Linked DNA regions of Homo sapiens: region 2 is linked to region 1. The links are contacts of gene promoters, found by promoter capture Hi-C in blood cells and fetal thymus (Javierre and others, 2016). All regions are on one chromosome and are shown on one strand. The core of a region is centred on a gene start or on the middle of the fragment in contact, and the rest is flanking DNA. Distances in the headings are between cores, read along the strand shown.

Evidence for each region. The method cuts DNA at HindIII sites, captures the fragments that hold promoters and counts their contacts. A CHiCAGO score of 5 or more calls a contact.
Region 2: a fragment that was not itself captured here is called in contact with the fragment with the promoter of PUF60 in region 1 in 1 of 17 cell types (non-activated CD4 T cells); the score reaches 6.2 in non-activated CD4 T cells.

Annotation. Positions count from the first base shown.
Region 1 is chr8:143,827,712-143,830,739 of GRCh38, forward strand. PUF60 (poly(U) binding splicing factor 60) reads right to left here and starts at 1,604. Exons shown (of 12, transcript NM_078480.3): 1 at 1,569-1,604. The coding sequence starts at 1,592. LOC107986985 (a long non-coding RNA gene) reads left to right here and starts at 1,569. Exons shown (of 3, transcript XR_001746138.2): 1 at 1,569-1,693; 2 at 2,135-2,327; 3 at 2,998-3,028. It also overlaps a transcript of NRBP2 not described here. RefSeq lists a silencer at 1,322-1,891 and enhancers at 1,676-2,375, 1,696-2,895. The HindIII fragment of the contact is 7,973 bases long and covers 1-3,028 here.
Region 2 is chr8:144,074,241-144,077,629 of GRCh38, forward strand. It overlaps a transcript of EXOSC4 not described here. Among named protein-coding and RNA genes, the nearest start is that of EXOSC4, 2.7 kb to the right of the region's middle. The HindIII fragment of the contact is 259 bases long and covers 1,941-2,199 here.

The DNA of each region.
Region 1 (3,028 bases), core at 354-2,853:
AAACACGTATTAAACCCAACAGAATTTGGATGGCAACAAACACCCCAACAGACAACCCGTTCGTGGGGTCAGTTATGGCCCACGTCCAACTCAACAATGACACCACCTATCTGGCACCACGCCACAGCAGACCTGAGCCCCCATTTAACCCTCATGAGCACAGGGCGCTGTTCTGCGGGTGCTAGGGGAGTCAGGCATCCACTCTCCTCCTCCACCTTCCCATGTCCAGTCCTTGTCTCTGAGCCTCCTCCTCCTTCACCATCAACTCTCTGACTGCTGCCTGAAGACAGTCACCAGGTCCTCAACCCTTACATCCTTTCTCTCTGGAGTGCCCCTCAAAGGTCACTTACTCCTGTGGCTTCAAGAGAAAGGACATAGTAGAAAGAGTGGAGTTAGCCAGTCCTGTGAATCACACACTGGGCTGCCCTCGCAAGCTGGGTATCTTGTGTAAATGCCTCTCTCCCCCTAGTAACTGGTTTCTGCCTCAGTGGGACATGGGACCAGCCCGCCCGCTGGGGGCCTGGCAATGGCAGTCTAAGGACACTCCCTGGTCCTGCCAGTCCAGCCTTCAGCCATTTGCCCAAGCTGTCTTCTCAAACAGACCTTATCCCATCCCGCTGGGTGTGGGCTGGGGGAAGGGTGACAAGTAATACAGGGGTAAACTGCGGCTGAGAAAGGTCCAAAAGGGGATTAGGTCCTATAAGCTAAGTGGTGAGAAGGAAAGACCAGACTTCATCGTGCATGTGTTGTGTGCATGGGTGTTCTCCCTCTACGTTAATAACGCCTGCCCTGCCCGGGGAAGTGGGCACTGAGCAGAGCAGGGGGCGACTCACTCCTCTGGATGCCCACGCAGCTCCCTAGGGCGCCCAGCAAATGGCACCCTGGGTGGGAACTGGCTTCTGGTGCGCACTAGACCTCCAACTGCCTGTCTGGTTCCCCACTGCGTCCCCAGATCCTCCCGCAGAGCTGGGGACAATGCGATTTCTCAAAACACGTAGGATGAGAGCGCACGTCCTTCCTTTCCACGTGGAGACAAGAGAATGGAGATAACCAGATCCCTCTCCAGCACCGGAGAACGAATTCACAGCTGCAGGCGTAGTGAGCCAAGGCCGCCCCATGCTCTGAGCTGCAGGCCCCTTTCTACAGGTCCCGTCCCCTTCTGATCCCATCAACCCGAAGGCCCACGCGTCACCCCCAGAACCCCGCTTCCGTCGTGACCACGGCGCACACCCCCGTCGGCAAAGGGAGGACGACGACCCCCGCTTGCCGGACCTAGCGGACAGGAACGCAACCCCGCCAGGCTCGCCCGCAAGGGCCACACGCCGCGCCCAGGCCCCCGCCCCGCCCCGCCGGAAGCTGGGGTCCGCAGGCCGGAAGCTGAGGCCGCGAGCCGGCCGCCGGCGCGCGCCCGCCCCGCCCCCGCCTCACGCGACCCGGGGACACGAGGGAGTCCGCGCGGGACCTGGGAAGACCGCCGCGTTCTTGGGAGGCCCTCCGCGCCCAGGCTGGGTCGACGACCCGGCCCCGCAAGCCGAGGGCCGCCCGCGCTCATGGGGGGGCTCACTTACGAGAGCTATGGTCGCCGTCGCCATCTTGCGTCCGTCGCGGCCTCCGCGCGCGCCTCCCACTCTTGCTCCTTCCGCTGTCTCGCGCGATCTGGGTGCCGGTGCACGGAACTCTCGCGAGGAAGGAGGTAAGAACGCGCTTCCGGGGCGGGGAGGAACGGTAAACGCCCCCGGGAGGGGCGACGGAAGGGGCGTGCTCTTGGCCGGGCGAGGGGCGTGGCCCGCGCACCTCGGGCGTCTAGGGGCGTGCGCCGCGGGACTCGAGTCGGGCGTATCTCTCCGCGTGGCCGACGCGGGCGTGCGTAGTACCCTTCGCCGCCCGTCGCCCTTGCGGCCACTGCTACGCTTCTCTTCTCTGCCTTTTTTGGAGAAAACGCTGTCGCGTGCGTCGTCCAGAGGCTCTCCCCCAGGAGGCAGGCGAAAGAGCGGGGCCCTCCTGGGCTGGAGGAGTCTCGGGTGATGAAAGGCCCGCGTGTTTCAGGCTGACGTCGTGAGATGCGTCGTCCCCGCGTCGCGACATCCCTGGGACCGGGAGGCCCCGTTCAATTGGCAGCTTTTTCTCCTTCCAGGGAACCGATGACCCTAGGTTGGCTGACATCAGTCGCTAGACCCGCAGCCCGCAGGCCCCGTTAGTCCCTGAACTGGCTTTCATGGCCCAAGGTGTCTGTCAGTACTGCTGGGAAAGCTGCCTGTCCTGGACATTTGCCATCTGCTGCACCCAGTCCCGAGACCCCAACTCGGTCATCCGAAGAAGCCACATCTGTAAGCTCAGGCACCTTCAGCTGCCTAAGGCCACAAGGCATCCCGGGCAGGCCTCCTTTCAACCCTGGGAACATTTAGAATTTAATACAGACACTTCTACTTAAATAGGGCAGAATATTCCCCGCCTCCCTCCTGAAACCTTCCAAAATTATAGGAAAGGGGTTTTATAAAGACAAACCCTGCAAGGGCAAAGAGCTGGGATATTGCAGAGCTTAAGAAAGGTGGACAGCGAGAGCTACTCCAGCCCACTTGGCTATGGAGGCCAGTGTCTGAGGGTCGTGGGTGAAAGCACAGCTACAGAAAGGAAACCCCAGACCTCTGTCCCTACCCACCGGGGCTGGCAGGCACTGCAGTGTCTGAGACGTGAGCTCCAGGAGAGGAGCTCTGAGGCCCTGCTCAAGCAAGGCCCTGTCTGAAAGCCTGGGAGTAAGTGAGACTCTGGGTCCTACCCCTGCCTCCACCCCTGGGCTGGGTCTGACCACCCGCATGCCATCAGGCTTCTCAGAGAAGAGGGCTCCTCTCTGCAGCAGCTCCTAGCTCAAAAGAAAAGACTGGCAGGGCACCTAGGGGTAGAGTGTTGCCCAGTAGAATGGCCCAGCCAGATCCCTGGCCTCGAAGCTCACCAGGTCATAAGCCCCAGCCACTAAAAGCATCTCACTCTTCAATGCAGCTGGACAGCCCAGGATCACCAGACACCTGAG
Region 2 (3,389 bases), core at 820-3,319, 250 kb after region 1:
CCTGCCATCAGTTACCCCCATCAGTTACCCCCTCCCCTGCTGCATAGAGCTGGAGGGGGTGTTGTGGGGTCCAGCTCCCGGGAGGTTGAGTTGAAGCTACGTTTTGCTTGGGCTTAGCGGGAACAGTCACTTCCCGATACAGTTATGCTATCGCTAGTCATTCTGGTGTAGAAATGGCTTCCGGAAACACCCACCTCCCTCGGCTGCATGTCATGACACAACAAGCTGATGAAATTGGCCAAGTGCCAACTCAAAGAGGATCTAAGATTAGTCACAAACAAGAAAACCCAAACTCAAATTCATTTTTTTGGGGCGGGGGGTGGTTCTGGGTTTTTTGGTTTGTTTTTTTGAGACAGCCTGGCTCTGTGGTATGGGCAGGAGTACCGTGGCACGATCATAGCTCACAGCATCCTCCAACTCCCTCGGCTCAGGCCACCCTCCCGTCTCAGTCTCTCAAGTAGCTGGAACTACAGGCGTGTGCCACCATACCCAGTTAATTTTTAAATTTTTTTTTGTAGAGATAGTGTGTCACTATGTTGCCCAGGCTGGTCTCGGACACCTGGCCTCAAGCGATCCTCCTGCCTCAGCTTCCCAAAGTGTTGGATTACAGGCACGAGCTACCTCACCCAGCCAAGCCCTGAACTGTTATGGCTCATATGTGGAAGAAATTTGATAAGCGGTTTCCTCCAATTTAATGACAATTCTAAAAATGTACATATTACCCAAAGGAGCTTTTACCTGAAAGCAACTTAATTATTAGTAATAAAATTAAATTTTGATCAAACATGTGAGAGGAGAAACTAAATCATTTTCTTGGTTTTTGTTTATTTGTTTTTTGTTTTGACAGGGTCTCATTCTGTTGCCCAGGCTGGAGTGCAGTGGTGTGACCACAGCTTACTGCAGCCTTGACCTCCTGGGCTCAAGTGAGCCTCCCACCTCCACCTCCCAAGTAGCTGGGACCACAGGTATGCACCACCATGTCCAGTTAATTTTTTTTTTTTTTTGAGACAGAGTCTCGCTCTGTCGCCCAGGCTGGAGTGCAGTGGTGCGATTTCGGCTCACTGCAACCTCCGCCTCCTGGGTTCACGCCATTCTCCTGCCTCAGCCTCCCGAGTAGCTGGGACTACAGGTGCCCGCCACCACGCCCGGCTAATTTTTGATATTTTTAGTAGAGTCAGGGTTTCACCGTGTTGGCCAGGATGGTCTCGATCTCCTGACCTCGTGATCTGCCCGCCTCGGCCTCCCAAAGTGCTGGGATTACAGGCGTGAGCCACCGCGCCCGGCCCATGTCCAGCTGATTTTTTGCATTTTTTGTAGAGATGGGGTTTTGCCATGTTGTCCAAGCTGATCTTGAACTCCTAGGCTCAAGTGATCCGCCTGCCTCTGCCTCCCAAAAGTGCTGGGATTACAAGCGCGAGCACCGCGTCTGCCATATTCTTTCTACATATAGAAGGTTACGTTATAAAAAGGTGTTGTCATCTTAAGAGAGCATCAGAGAACGCATCAAAGAAATGTAGGGGAAACCTGTTGGAGTCAAATATGTCAGGCAGGTTTTCTGCATTTTGTGATGTTTGTAGTATTTGACAACTTTTAAAATGTTTGTTATGTGTTGGGACTTCTTTTCTCACTATTCACTTAGTTTTGGATATACAATTTTGTCTTATGTTTCAAAAGAAGACTGCATAGAAGAGTTAACAGCAGGCCTGAGAAGCTCTTCTTCACAGGCAAGTTTGAAGAGTGGGTGTCTGGGAACTTGGGTTTTTCATGGTTCCCCCACTCTCTGGTAAGCGTGTCTCACTGTGCCTAGACTGTTTGTACAAATATGGCTCATGCTGAACACCTGTGTTGCTTCTAGGGGTCTGGAATTTGGGCACATGCTTGGCACAGACTGTGTATGTGACCAGCCCTCCATAAAACCCCAGGGCGCTGAGTGTCTAAGAAGCTTCCCTGGCAGACAGCATTTCACACACACGGCTCCAGCTTCTTCCCGTGGAGTCCACCAGGAGAGGACGTGGCCAGCTCACGCCTGATTTCCTGTGGAATTCATCCCATGCACCTTTTCTCTTTGCTGATTCAGACTTATATCCTCTCTGTGTAATAATCTTAGGCGTGAAGACAAGTCTATAGTGAGTCCTTCTAGCAAATCGGTTACTCTGGAGGGGTCTTGGGGATACCTCTCACGGCCCCTGAATTTGTATAAGCTTTAGGCCTCCAAAATTTGAATCGACCCATGTGTGTACCCTAAAGCTGGAGTACGAGGGTCAGAGAACCAAAGGTGTGAGGTAGGAGTGGCCCCATAATCCTAAACCTGTAATGCTGCCAGGTTGGAGGCCTGGTTCCTGAAGATGAATACTTCCACCAGGGAACACAGCAAAGGTTCCACTGATCTTGAAGTAGCGGCTATCACTGGCCCACTTTGGACACCTTAGGCTGAAGACCAACATCGTCCTCATTGTCCTGAGTTGCTACGGTCAATGCTACACAACTGGGGTGGGCAGTCCACAGAGCTCCCTGGGCGTCTAGTCTTCCCGCATGCGGCAAGGACTGTCAGTGGACAACCCAGTAATGGCCATGCGTGGTGGCGGGAGGCCGAGGCAGGTGGATCACCTGAGGTCAGGAGTTCAAGATCAGCCTGGTCAACATGGTGAAACCCCATCTCTACTAAAACTACAAAAAAAAAGTTAGCAGGGCATGGTGGTGCATGCCTGTAATCCCAGCTACCTGGGAGGCTGAGGTAGGAGAATCGTTTGAACCCAGGAGGTGGAGGTTGCAGTGAGCTGAGATTGTGCCACTGCACTCCAGCCTGGGTGACAGTGAGACTCCATCTCCAAAAAAAAAAAAAAAACCTTAGCCAGGCATAGTGGCAGGTGCCTGTAATCCCACCTTCCCAGCTACTTGGGAGGCTGAGATAGAAGAATCACTTGAACCCTGGAGGTGGAGGGTGCAGTGCGCTGACATTGTGCCACGGCACTCTAGCCTGGGTGCAGAGTAAGACTCCATCTCAAAAAACAAAACAAAACAAAGAAACAAACGAAAAAAACGATGACTCAGTAAGAACAGGGACAGTAAGAGCTCAGACTGAAAGGGGAAAAGGGCTCCACAATAAGCAGAGTGGCTGTAGAGCAGAGGGTGGGGAATCCGGGGTGGCAAGTGGCAGAGGGTGGTGACCCATCATGGCCTCAGACCAGCTGCAGCAGCAGGGTTGTGGCTTGCTCACTCACTCTCATGCCTCAGTCTTTCAGGAGAGCTTAACCACCTTGGAGGGGATGCTGTGACAACTGAACTTGGGCCCCTGCAGCAGACCACATTTCCCTAGCCCGCCTGCTCTTCCTACAGTCTAATATTGACACTCCTCCCACTGAAGGGTGGGGTCCCTGTCCTCATCCCTT